4 separate regions of the Homo sapiens genome follow, and regions 2, 3 and 4 are each linked to region 1. Evidence: promoter capture Hi-C in 16 types of primary human blood cells and fetal thymus (Javierre and others, 2016). All regions are on one chromosome and are shown on one strand. The core of a region is centred on a gene start or on the middle of the fragment in contact, and the rest is flanking DNA. Distances in the headings are between cores, read along the strand shown. Region 1 holds the start of NOP2 (NOP2 nucleolar protein). Region 2 overlaps CD27 (CD27 molecule). Region 3 overlaps VAMP1 (vesicle associated membrane protein 1). Region 4 has its middle 9.8 kb from the start of VAMP1.

Region 1 (3,039 bases), core at 263-2,762:
CGGTTGTCAAGTTAAACCAGTGAAGTACATGGAACGGTTTTAACACCTAACCACTACCTTAATGTTAGTTTCTAGGAAGGCTGAGGGGGGTTTTCTTGCTAAGTTGTGCAAAATTGGGATGCAATTTGTGGAAGAACACAGCCTCAATCCCACACCCCCGGAGGCCCGACCTAACGTCCTCCAACCTTGAAACCCTTGTAGTTCACCCCTTCTCATGTCCCAGACCAGGTCAGCCTTGCAACCCGTTGTTTCCCAACTAATTGTAGACCCACCTGAAAGCGAGTTCCGGCGAAGAGGCCCCCTGCGAATGAGGTGCAGTGCAGCACCTTAATTGAGGGGCTGAGCAGGGGTCAGCATCAAGGAAGGTGCTGGGAGGGCGGGGCACGGTGGCTCACAGCCTGTAATCTCAGCACAAAGGTGGGGGCAGGAGGATCGCTTAAGCCCAGGAGTTCTAGACCAGCCCTGGCAATATAGTGAGACGCCACCCCCTACAACCCGTCTCTATAAAAAGATTTTTAAAAAAGGGGCAAAGAGGAGGAGGTAAGTGGCATGGAATTCCACGGTTTTTTTTGTTTGTTTGTTTTGAGATGGAGTCTCGCTTTGTTGCCAGGCTGGAGTACAGTGGCGCGATCTCAGCTCACTGCAACCTCCCCCTCCCGGGTTCAAGCGATTCTCCTGCCTCAGCCTCCCGAGTAGCTGGGACTACACGCGTGCGCCAGCCACCATGCCCAACTAATTTTTGTATTTTTAATAGAGACAAGGTTGGCCAAGATGGTCTCGGATTTCTTGACCTCGTGATCCGCCCGCCTCGACCTCCCAAAGTGCTGGGATTACAGGCGTGAGCCACCGAGCCCGGCTGGTTTTTTTGTTTTTTTTTTTTGAGGTGGAGTTTCGCTCTTGGTGAGGCTTAAGTGGCACGATCTCGGCTTACTGCAACCTCCGCCTCCCGGGCTCAAGCAATTCTGCCTCAGCCTCTCGAGTAGCTGGGATTATAGGCGCCCGCCACCACGCCCGGCTAATTTTGTATTTTTAGTAGAAGCAGGGTTTCACCATATTGGCCAGGCTGGTCTCGAACTCCTGACCTCAAGTGATCCACCCACCTCAGCCTCCCAAAGTGCTGGGATTACAGGCGTGAGCCACTGCGCCCAGCCTGGAATTCCGTGATCTTGACGCTGGACTAGGGCAGTGGATGCGAGGGAGAGGGCTCCAATGTCGGGCCCTGGTTCGAGGAGAAGGTGCGGCTTTCACCCAACAGAAACCGGCCGTGAGGCTAAAAGCCAACTCCATGAGGGAAGGTCGGTCAAGCTCAATGGTTTCGTCACATTGCTCCCTCCACCCGCCGCGGGTGTAAGCTGCGCGTCTCCTTCGAATTGCCCCCTACTCGCCGCCGCCGGCTCCGCTGGCGTTCCCAGGGCGAGCGTAAGTTCCGGGTGCGGCGGCCGACTAGGCGCAACAGGAAGAGGCGGGGCCGCGAGGCTAGCGCTACCCGTGCGCCTGCGTGGAACGATTCTGTGGCGAGTGCCGGCCGAAAGCTAGGTCCGGATTGCACGTGGAGGGCCGCCCGAAGGGCACTCTCGGACATTAACCCGCATTCTGGTGGGTCTAGAGGAAATTGGGGGACGAAGAGTGGCAGCACTGACCTGGTCTGGGACGTGGGGAGAAGGGTGCGCTACCTGGGTTTCAGGTGGGAGGGCGTTCGGTCGGGCCTCCAGGGGGATAGCGGGGGTGCTTGAGTCGCGGGTGCTGAGTCGGGAGTGCTGAGTGAGTTGCGGGTGCTGAGTTGAGGCTGTGCCCTTTCCCACTATAATACGCCAAGCGTGCGTTCTGCCGTTCCCTCCGACACGCGCGACGCCACCTTCTCCCATTTCTGCCTGCCACAGTACCATGGGGCGCAAGTTGGACCCTACGAAGGAGAAGCGGGGGCCAGGCCGAAAGGCCCGGAAGCAGAAGGGTGCCGAGACAGAACTCGTCAGATTCTTGCCTGCAGGTAAGGATTAGTTGTGGCCTCCTGATCCCTCAGCTTTTGCAGTATTCTGTATTATAACCTCTTCTCTTTTTTAGTTTCTGTTCATTTTATATTTAAGTGGAATCTTCTCTGTATGAGTTACTAGGAGGTATGAATGAAACAGCCGTTTAGATTGTAGGGAACTGTTTAGGTCGTAGAGATGTGAAGACACGGACACAACTATTATTCATGCAAGGGAAAAGTGTGATTTAAAACAATTGTGAGTTCAGAGGAAGGGGGAGCCCATGCAGAACTGTAAAAGTTTTTGTTAAGCTGGGTTTTGAAAAATGGGTAACATTGTAGCAAGAGGAAGTAGTGAAGGGGAGGGGTCAGTCACTGATTTGCCTTTTGGAAGGGGTGGAAATGGAAAAGCACGGATCTGGCTGCTTCATGCCGAGTAGTAGTATACTGTGTGGAAGACTGGTGGGAGGTAACACTGGACCGGGAGTTTGTGTTGGGCATTGGATAAAGGATGCAGTTTATTGAGATAGTAGGAAGTCCTGGGCACTGTATTAAACTTGTTGGTCATGTTATATCGCTTAATCATCTTAGAGTCCTGTGAGAGAGGCACTATTAAGGAAACACTTTGGGAGGCCGAGGCAGGTGGATCACCTGAGGTCCAGTGTTCGAGACCAGCCTGGCCAACATGGTGAAACCCTGTCTTTACTAAAAATACAACAATTAGCTGGGTGTGGTGATGGGAGGCTGAGGCAATAGAATCGCTTGAATCTGGGAGAAGGAGGTTGCAGTGAGTTGAGATCACGCCATTGCACTCCAGCCTGGAAGACAAGAGTGAAACTCCATTTCAAAAAAAAAAAAGAAACTTGTATACAGTTATTAAATAATAACAGGGCTGAGATTTAAATGGACTCCTTTTAATTAGTGTACTAATTCTCTTACCATGTTTATTTCCGTTCCCATTTATTTTTAATGTCCCCTGTAACTTGTTCTGCCTCGTTTTTCTTTTTTAAACAGTAAGTGACGAAAATTCCAAGAGGCTGTCTAGTCGTGCTCGAAAGAGGTAAGTGTGGGTG
Region 2 (3,039 bases), core at 464-2,963, 120 kb after region 1:
CTAATGAATGCTGACTCTGAGTTGCTACTAGAATTTGGTTTCCTTGTGGCTTCCCAGGAATTGTGAGCCATGTTGGATAAGGACCTGCAAGGGAAGAATGAGGAAGCCTGGGACAGTGCAGGAGGGGAGAGCACTGGTGGTAGAGAGGAGTGATGACAAGGGTCTCCGCCAAAAGGGAAATGGAGGGGTTAAAGAAGCTGCTGGGGAGGGTTAAAAACAATGTGTTCTCACTCGTAGGTGGGAATTGAACAATGAGAACACTTGGACACAGGAAGGGGAACATCACACACTGGGGCCTGTCGTGGGGTGTGGGGAGGGAGGAGGGATAGCATTAGGAGATATACCTAATGTAAATGATGAGTTAATGGGTGCAGCACACCAACATGGCACATGTATACCTATGTAACAAACCTGCACATTGTGTACATGTACCCTAGAACTTAAAGTATAATTAAAAAACAAAACAAAACAAAACAAAAACAATGAGGTGCTATTGTTTTAGTGGTGAGTATCCGGAGACCTGGGAGTTCTATTTACCAGGTATAACCTGGGCTCAAAATTCCAGGCTGACTTCAGGCATGTCCTCATCTCATAGATGCCAGCACTAAGGCCCAGAGAGGGCCGAGCTCATTCAGCCCACCCATCTTCTCACCCCTGACTGCATTTCCCGGGGGTCCTTCTGCAGCCAGGTGCTGCTGTGGTACTTTGGGATCTATTGGCTGAGCTCCCAGAGAAGGGTCATGGATTGGGCTAGTTTGGAACAAGTGAAGGGACTGAAGATGGGCTCAGTATGGGGCGAAGACCTTCAGGAAGGGTCTGCAGAGTGAGTAGGGGGGTTTTGACTAGGAAAAGTTCCAACCCTGCCGGGGCCGCTGTCAAGAGAAAAGCATCTATTACAGTTACATTTTTAAGTTAAGTAGACTGAAGAATATTTCTTGTGTATTAAAGACGTTCCTTTTTGGTTGATTTGCAATGGAAAAGCTTTTGTTTTCTTTTTTTTTTTGGAAACAGGGTCTCACTCTGCTCACTCTGTCTCCCAAGCTGGAGTGCAGTGGTACAGTCACGGCTCACTGCAGCCTCCACTTCCTGGACTCAAGTGATCTTCTCACTTCAGCCTTCTGAGTAGCTGGGACTACAGGTTCGTGCCACCACGCCTGGCTAACTTTTTGTATTTTTAGTAGAGACAGGGTTTTGCCATGTTGCCCAGGGTGTTCTTAAACTCCTGGGCTCAAGGGATCCGCCTGCCTTGGCCTCCTAAAGTGCTGGGATTACAAGTGTGAGCCACTGCTCTGGCTTTTTGTGTGTGTGTGTGTGTGTGTGTGAAAAAGGGTTTTGCTCTGTTACCCAGGCTGGAGTGCAGTGATGTGAGCAGCCTGGACCTCTTGGGGACCTCTTGGGCTCAAGTGATCTTCCCATCTCAGCCTCCCAAGTAGCTGGGACTGCAGGTGCACTACCATGACCAGCCAATTTTTTTAGAGACAAGGTCTCACTATGTTGCCCAGCTGGTCTCAAGCTCCTGGGCTCAAGTCTCTACAAAATATGCAAATACCCTTCTGCCTTGGCCTCCCAAGTGCTGGGATTATAGGCATGAGCCACCACATCTGGTGTTGGTTTTTGTTTTTGTTTTTACGGGACCAGGCACTACAGCTCACACCTGTAATCCTGGCACTTTCAGAGGCTGAGACTAGAAGATTGCTTGAGCCCAGGAGTTCAAGGCTGTGGGGAGCTATGATTGCACCACTGCACTCCAGCCTGGGTGACAGAGCTAGACCTTGTCTCTAAACTAAACAAAACAAAACCCAGTACCAAGAGACCCAGTGACACCAAACACGTTTTGCAAGTAGGTAGTTTAATAGTTACAGTTACCTGGTTCTAAAAAGTGTCTTGCTAGAGAACATTTGTTCAAAGGGGCCACTTTAAAGCCTGCTATTCTAGTGTATACTGGCCGTAGTTTCTGAAATTGTAGCGAAGATGGAGAAATAATAACAGCATTCATAAGCACAACTGCAGATATTATACTTCTTAGTTTAAAAAAAACCTTTTTTTTTGGAACTATAAAATAAAAACACAGGCTACATACATACTCATTTTCTCAAATTGGCTTTTGTGCAAAAAAAGGTTGTTACCTATTGGGTTGCTTTGTTATTTCCTTAGAAAGATGTATTCCAAATTCCCAATGGCCAACCTGCACATGTGCACTCTGGGAACACAGTCAGTTTATTGGTTGGGGGTTGCTTGCCCGAAATCTGGGGTCATAGAGCCACTTCTCTCATTTTATTGTCTTGATCCTATCCATAGACCCGTTCTCACCAATCCCTCAAATTCTATTTATCCCTTTCCTGGAATACTAGATGTCTGCCCACGTTAATTCATGCCCCACCTAGGGTGCCGCATTTCCCAGCATTGGCTCCACTTGCTGTGAGCCTTGAAGAAGGCCAAAGCTTTGGCCCCGTCATCCTCCTTGCACCCCCAAACCCGTCACCAGCCTTGCTCCCCCAGATGCTTGTCCATCGTCCCCACCTACACACCCTTGCCCACCTCACCAGAGTTACAGTGCCGACAGCTCTCACAGTGGGGCCGGGTGTGGTGGTCAGGAGAGAAGGAGACCCCCGGTATGCAAGGATCACACTGAGCAGCCTTTCTATGCTGGTCACAGTCCTTCACGAGGAATGTTCCTGGGAGGAGAGGGTAAGGGATCAAGGCCTGAGAAGGGCTGGTTCTCTGCCCTCTTCAAGGTGGTGCCTCCCCACAGCTGCAGGATTTCCCTCCTTGCTTGAGCTCAGTCTCACCCTGCGCCTATTTACTGTATTAACCCCAGTCCTCTCTCTTTCGCCACTCACCTGGCCCTTACCAAGGCCCCCTCTTACCTGGCTCACACATCTGGCAGCACAGCTTTCCCTGAGCCCAGTAGTGCCTCTCTGGGCAGCTCTTGGGGGCTGGAGTAGCTGAGAGCCCCACCAGGGTCCCCAGAACGCACAGCCACCAGGGATGTGGCCGTGCCATGGTCCCTGCCCAGGCGGCTCCTTTCTGTGCCCAGTT
Region 3 (3,039 bases), core at 1-2,500, 100 kb after region 1:
GATGGAAGGAATTCTGTTTCCCACTAGAGATGTGGCTCTTTTCCTCATTCCTGAAATCCAAGGGCTCATTTTTTGTCCATGTTTCCTCAGATGATGATCATGCTGGGAGCCATCTGTGCCATCATCGTGGTAGTTATTGTAAGTAAGTATCGCTGAAGTTGCTGGTGGGGTGAAGAGGTGGGAAGGTCCTGGAGTCTTCTCCCTGCCTGCCTGCCTGCCTGGGGAGTGGGGCTGCTCTGACTGAGGTATGGAGACCGCTGCTATGGGATCGTCACCTGGTTCGGGACGGGGGAAGGGCAGAGACAAGGGATTTCTTTGATGGACAAGCCTTCCCCCTGCAACGCATTGCAGGGAGATGGCGCCTCCTGTTCTGAGGAAGTGGGGCTATGCTGTGTGTCACTGGCTTGGGTTGGAGGGAGACCATGGGGATGGGGCACTTAACAATGGAGAGACCTGAATGTCTGGTAACTTGGTGTAATTCACCCTCTTGTTTTCTCCTGTCTCTTTCTCTTTTCCGTCTGGGACTTCCTGATTCCTGTGTCCAGTCTACTTTTTTACTTGAGAATGTACCACCCCTTCCCTGTTGTCCATTGCCATCCACATTCATGTCCTCTGCCCTCTGTTTGCTCTCTCAACACACTTCCCCACCCACCGTCCTCCATTCCAGCCCAGGCTTCTCCATCACCCATTCCTCCTTTTTCGTTGCGTTCATTTGCACTCTGTCCCTCAACACTAGAAATGCTGCTCGTGGCACAATCTAAGTCATTACCCGAAGAGCAACAGCTGGCGCCTCCTCCCTGCCTGCTTTTTCTGTACTCTCAAGTTCCCCCAAAGCCCCAAAGAGTTGGAGGCCAAGGGAAGGGGCAGGGAGGGGAGTGGCTGAGGCGAAGTACCCATGAAGCTGCCCAGACTTGGGAGGAGAAGAGTATCGGTGCCCATGGTGACTTCTAGAAAACCTGGCCACTGGTAGGAGCTAGGGAGGGGCTGGGAAGATGGCAGCTCACTCAGTACTGCCTGGTCATGTGGAGCTTTCCTTCCTGGACCAGGCCTGAAGAGGGTCCTGGGGGTGGACCAAAGTCCAACTTGGTTTCAGTGCAGTACCCTTTTCGAAAGTAAAAACTTGTTTTTTGTAGTTATTTCTAATCTGTTCGTCCAGGATTTTCCGTGTCTTTGGGGATCTTACAACTTTACTTTGTTCTCCAGAGGCCTGGAGAACACTTAGGGATTGTGAAAATAGCAGGACTTGTTTCCATCCTAGAAGCAGTCCCATGTGCTTCTAGCTGGAAGGAGCTTTCTCTTCTTTACATTTTCTACAGCATTCTGTATGAGGGCACCAAATAAATCCATCTAGCTGGTAGTTTTATCTAGCCAAATAATTTAACCTAGCTCCCAGTTAATTGTTGGCATAAAGAGAGAGATTGCCTGTTAGTTATAGAGAAACAGTGAGTCAAGTGCTTAATTTGAAAGTAACAAGCTCAGAGGAAGCCACTCCTTGCCCTCGTTAAAGAGGGTCCTGTTCCTCTCTTCCTGTTGATGAAGGAGCGTGAGGGTGTTAGCAGTGTGAGATCTTTGGACACCCATGGAATCCTTTCCTCCACACCACCCGTGCACTTGCCAAAGACAGGGATGAGGCAAGTGGTTCTTCCTGGGGCCCGGCCGATCCTCAGGATGCAGAGAAGTCATGTAGACCCACCAGCCCCACCTTGGGGGGAGGCGTGCCAGCCTGTGTCAGGTGTGCTTGTGTATTGCTGTGCTGTCATGGGGCCCTCTCCTTGAGAGCCGCCTCTCTGTTCTTCCTGTAGTATATTCCCCTTTGAACCACCCTTTCCTGTCTGAATTCTACTTTGCCTCCTTTCTCTTCCTCCTCTTTGCATGGTTTGTGTGTATAGACAGTGGAACCTGAGGATGGGATCTGCTCAGCCTATCTTCGGGGCAATTGCTGAGCTTCAGGATGGGCTATTAATGTGGGATAAGCCCAGGTGCAAGGGGAGGAGGGCAGGCTGGGAACAGAGCGGAGAATGCCCATGGCCCTTTATTCCTTCTTCCCTCGGTCCACGAACAGGAAGAGGCTGAGGCCATGCTGGGCAGGGTCTGGATGCCCACTTTCCATGCAGCAGCATTTCATTGCTCAAAACCATCCTTCCTTTCCTTTCGCCCTTGTTTCCCACATTCCCTTCGTCCTGCCCAAGGGCGGGACTGAAGAGCTGGAAGAAAGCAGTCAGTACCCTCCCAACGGCCCCCCTCGAAGGTCTCCACTCTCCTCTGGGCTCCTCCTTGCCTAATGCAGGGGGTCACCGCTGGAGAAGAACCACCACTGTCCTCGATGTGTCCCAAGCCTGGAGCGAATCCGTCCTCTTGGCTCTCCCAGCCCTATCACAGGAATCATTCCTGGGTTTCTGTCCCTCTGAGGCTCACCAGGTGTAGTTGGCCTTGTTCTTTGGGGGTATTAGCCCTTCTACTTTCTTTCTCACCCACCCTGTACCCTCTTCTGTGTGTCTCTGCTATCCCCCTTTCCTCCCACCACCCATGTGCATGAGCAAATGTGCAACAAAACCCTGGGACTTTGCAGTCAAATGAAGCTGAGCTTCCCACATCCCGTTCTTCGGTTTGCCATGAGACGATGTGGGGTTTCCACTGTGTGTCTGTCATCACCTCTTTGTCTTTTTTTCCTAACCCTGATCTCATACTTGTATAGAGTAATAACAACAGTTGTACTTCCACCAAAGGCATGTGGCATATTTACCAATGTCATGTATTCTGAACAAAGGCAAAAAATACAAATTCCTACCATTAAACTGGCTTGGTTGTTGTTTGGGTTGGAGTAGCTGTGGGGGCTTGGGGAAGGGTGTCGTTTCTTTCTAGTAGTCTCATGTCGCTTTAGGTCAGCTGGGCTGGCTTACACGCGCTGTGCGGTCTTCATGGAGATGGGAGCTCTGTGTGTCAGCACAGGAAGTGGTCTCCCAGCGTTCAGCCTGAAGCAGCCCAAGTCCTGTAGGTGCTGGTAAGAGGAAGTGAAGACAGGAAGTTGCGTGGGCATCT
Region 4 (3,039 bases), core at 253-2,752, 88 kb after region 1:
TCATTCAGCTTTTAAAACTGAAAAAAAATTTAAGTTTCAAATATAATAAAGACTTAAGTACATATTCAACATTTATTTTCTATTACACTTTTCTGGCCAAAAGGAGTTGAAGAGTTTTTTTCCTTATCTTACTTATGACAAACGTTGTCAGATTTAAAAAAAAAAAAACAAAATATAACAGAATAGTAGTTGTGAAGACTAACTCTATATGAATGGTTTTAATCATAATGCAGTTAAAATAACATTTAATATAGATTCATTTCACTGGATGATGTCACCTTTTAAAACACCAGTATTTCTCATATCATTTCTGTATGGTCTTGACACATTCTTATATCTTCTTCAACATGACTTCTTCACTTTTTTCTCTAGAGTTTTCTTGAATTAAAATAATGGCTTGAAGAAGATCATATGAGATTTAGTGGCCCTGTGATATTTCTTAAATGCTGGGCAAAGCTGGTTGATAATGTAACTCATTAAAATGAGCTGTATTTTCAGTGCCCCAGGCTGGCCGGGCAGTCTGATAGAAGGCCTTAGTTCCTCTTGCAGATAAAGACTAGAGTCCATTCTTCCACTAGTCCAGGGCAGTGGCCTAAAAAATACAGAAGGCCCGGTGCGGTGGCTCACACCTATAATCCCAGCACTTTGGGAGGCTGAGCCGGGCGGATCATGAGGTCAGGAGTTCAAGACCAGCCTGACCAACATGGTGAAACCCTGTCTCTACTAAAAATACAAAAAAATTAGCCAGGCGTGGTGGTGCACGCCTGTAATCCCAGCTACTCAGGAGGCTGAGGCAGGAGAATCACTTGAACCAGGGAGGCGGAGGTTGCAGTGAGCCAAGATTGCACCACTGCACTCCAGCCTGAGCTCCGTCTAAAAAAAAAAAAAAAAAAAAATGTCCAGGAAAGGCATTACACGGAATGCCATTGTTTAGAAGAGATTTGGATTTAATGGTGTTGTTATAGGTAAAGTATTTCCGGAGCAAAAATCTCATTCATTCAGTGTTTGGGGGAAGGTTAAACTTTATAATCACAGTTGCCTTTCTCTGGGGAAAAGATTTATTTTTATTTTTATTTATTTTACTTTAAGTTTTGGGAGAAAAAGGTTTCTTTAATTTGCTATGATCACTTCCTCTCAATTTCTTTTTCTTACAGTCATGCATACTCTGTAATCTAAATTTCTTAAGTTTATTTAAAAATCAGAGGAAAAAAACCTAAGGAGATAAAAACGAGCACAAAGTAAACAAAGAAACAAATAATTTTGCCATTATACTTTCTCCTGGATAACTGCAGATATTTCTTGTCATTTCCATTCTGTTTCAACACTACAGAACAATATACTCATGGCCCAATGGTGAAGCAATGTGCACATGAGTGACAAAACATGGGAACTAGAAAAGGAATATAAATGTAAATCAAGCTTTTAAAATCCCAGTAATGCAACAACTTCTTTCCTTATTTATTGGATCAAAGTCCATTCCACATGAATTCACATTTTGGTTCCAGGAGGCCATGCACCATAAGCCCTAATAACAAAGACCACTATTTGTAGAGCCTGTGACCAGTATCTACTGGTGGCAAGCTTGCAAAAGTCTTCTGGAAGACTCATAAGATTATGTTGTACTTGTTTTCTGGATTCGGGGGACCATGGAAATAGAAAATGATAGAAACGAGGCATGCTTTTGAGGTTTCTTGGGCTGGGTAGTAGAAAAATAGGTGTTTTCCTGTGGGATTTTTTTGCAGCTGAGAATACTTCGTCATTTTCCTCAGTCTTTAAGGGAGTGGTAGGCTTTGACAGTCCAGCTGTTGACAAAATCTGTCTTCTTAAACTGAGCCTTCTTGTAGGCATGATGGAGTTCCGTGTGTGCCTACAGAGAATACAGGAGGATGGAAGCAGCTTTACTTGCTTTGTTGGAGGCATAGGCATCGCCTGCACTGATGGTCATAATTTTCTGGATGCCCCCGGTATTCGGAAGGCGCTGTGCATTCTGGTAACTGTTTTGGATTACGTTGTTCAACATGTAACAGGCAGAGGCTGTAGTTTCAATGAGAAGGTCAGTACTCGGGACTGTATCAGGAATGATGGAGACCAAACTGGGGAGAGTTTCTTTGGCAATTTTATTCTGCAGAGAAAGATTCTGGGACAGATTCCTCAGCAGCAAGTTGGCTGTCTTTTTCACACTTGGGTCACTGACATGCACCATCTTTCGGGTGTGCTGCAGGCCATTTTCCTTCTGGACGACTGTCTGAGCCACTGATGTCGGCATTGGTCCACTTCCGGCTGTGAGGTTCTGGAGAGCGCCTAAGGAGGCTTCCTGTGTGTAGTTTGGGACACTCTTGGCGATCAAGGACAGATACATCCTTATCACAATGGAGTGTCACAGCCACTCCACGCCCTTGGGGTTGCTCTTTTCCTCTGGCATCGGCATGTCCTAGTATTGCTCTTTTAGTTTCCTGCTTCGACTGCCAAAACATCCAATACTTTTGTTGTTAGTCTGGACATTTGGGTTTTGAATATAGATATTCTGGGAATATTTCTCTGGGAGCTCTACCTCCAGCTGGTAGGAGAGGTTATGAAGAATGTGCACACAATTCTCCGTGGCCTTGTCATCTGGCTGGTAATCCGCAATGGTTCCTCTGACATAATGGACCAGTGAGTCAATGAGTCGGTCACATCTTCTCATTGCTTTTCTCCTATCAGGGCCAGCAGCACTCATGTTTCTTAGACATCCAGTGGGTTGTAGACTGTGTCAAAATCGAGCAAACCATTCGCTTTTGGGTAGTCTCCTTCAGGCCATCCAGAAAAGGAGATGATTATATTCTCGGTCAGCATAAGCAATGCTTCTGTTATCATGAGATTCTTGAGTTTGTCATTAGATGACAAATTCCACAGCAAACCTGTTAGTTGTTTTTTAGTCTCCAAGACTCTGGTTTGCTTCAGCACCTGGAGCAGCCGAGTTACCCCATTTAGTTCAGCCACCTCCAATTTGTTGTCATTGTCTTCAAATAGTAAGTTTCTCAAGGCCCCCCACACAGCTCG

What was found. The method cuts DNA at HindIII sites, captures the fragments that hold promoters and counts their contacts. A CHiCAGO score of 5 or more calls a contact.
Region 2: a fragment that was not itself captured here is called in contact with the fragment with the promoter of NOP2 in region 1 in 8 of 17 cell types (activated CD4 T cells, total CD8 T cells, naive CD8 T cells and 5 more); the score reaches 7.4 in activated CD4 T cells.
Region 3: a contact is called between a fragment that was not itself captured here and the fragment with the promoter of NOP2 in region 1, in 8 of 17 cell types (total CD8 T cells, naive CD4 T cells, activated CD4 T cells and 5 more). The highest score is 9.5, in total CD8 T cells.
Region 4: a fragment that was not itself captured here is called in contact with the fragment with the promoter of NOP2 in region 1 in 9 of 17 cell types (activated CD4 T cells, total CD8 T cells, non-activated CD4 T cells and 6 more); the score reaches 11.0 in activated CD4 T cells.

The regions. Positions count from the first base shown.
Region 1 is chr12:6,566,764-6,569,802 of GRCh38, reverse strand. It overlaps NOP2 (NOP2 nucleolar protein), which reads left to right and starts at 1,512. Exons shown (of 16, transcript NM_001258308.2): 1 at 1,512-1,596; 2 at 1,881-1,987; 3 at 2,981-3,026. The coding sequence starts at 1,885. CHD4-AS1 (CHD4 antisense RNA 1) reads right to left here and starts at 1,432. Exons shown (of 3, transcript NR_199067.1): 1 at 273-1,432. RefSeq lists enhancers at 1,168-1,217, 1,041-1,662. The HindIII fragment of the contact is 18,468 bases long and covers 1-3,039 here.
Region 2 is chr12:6,445,060-6,448,098 of GRCh38, reverse strand. It overlaps CD27 (CD27 molecule), which reads right to left. Exons shown (of 6, transcript NM_001242.5): 1 at 2,868-3,039; 2 at 2,544-2,675. The coding sequence starts at 3,003. CD27-AS1 (CD27 antisense RNA 1) reads left to right here. Exons shown (of 6, transcript NR_015382.2): 3 at 1-62; 4 at 1,012-1,138. Among named protein-coding and RNA genes, the nearest start is that of CD27, 1.6 kb to the right of the region's middle. RefSeq lists enhancers at 1,864-1,983, 2,693-2,872, 2,903-2,962, 2,507-3,008. The HindIII fragment of the contact is 1,460 bases long and covers 984-2,443 here.
Region 3 is chr12:6,461,993-6,465,031 of GRCh38, reverse strand. VAMP1 (vesicle associated membrane protein 1) reads left to right here. Exons shown (of 5, transcript NM_014231.5): 4 at 91-142; 5 at 546-2,795. The coding sequence ends at 562. TAPBPL (TAP binding protein like) reads right to left here. Exons shown (of 7, transcript NM_018009.5): 7 at 2,716-2,998. The coding sequence ends at 2,883. Among named protein-coding and RNA genes, the nearest start is that of VAMP1, 7.2 kb to the left of the region's middle. The HindIII fragment of the contact is 4,495 bases long and covers 1-3,039 here.
Region 4 is chr12:6,478,937-6,481,975 of GRCh38, reverse strand. It overlaps the pseudogene PKP2P1. Among named protein-coding and RNA genes, the nearest start is that of VAMP1, 9.8 kb to the right of the region's middle. The HindIII fragment of the contact is 162 bases long and covers 1,422-1,583 here.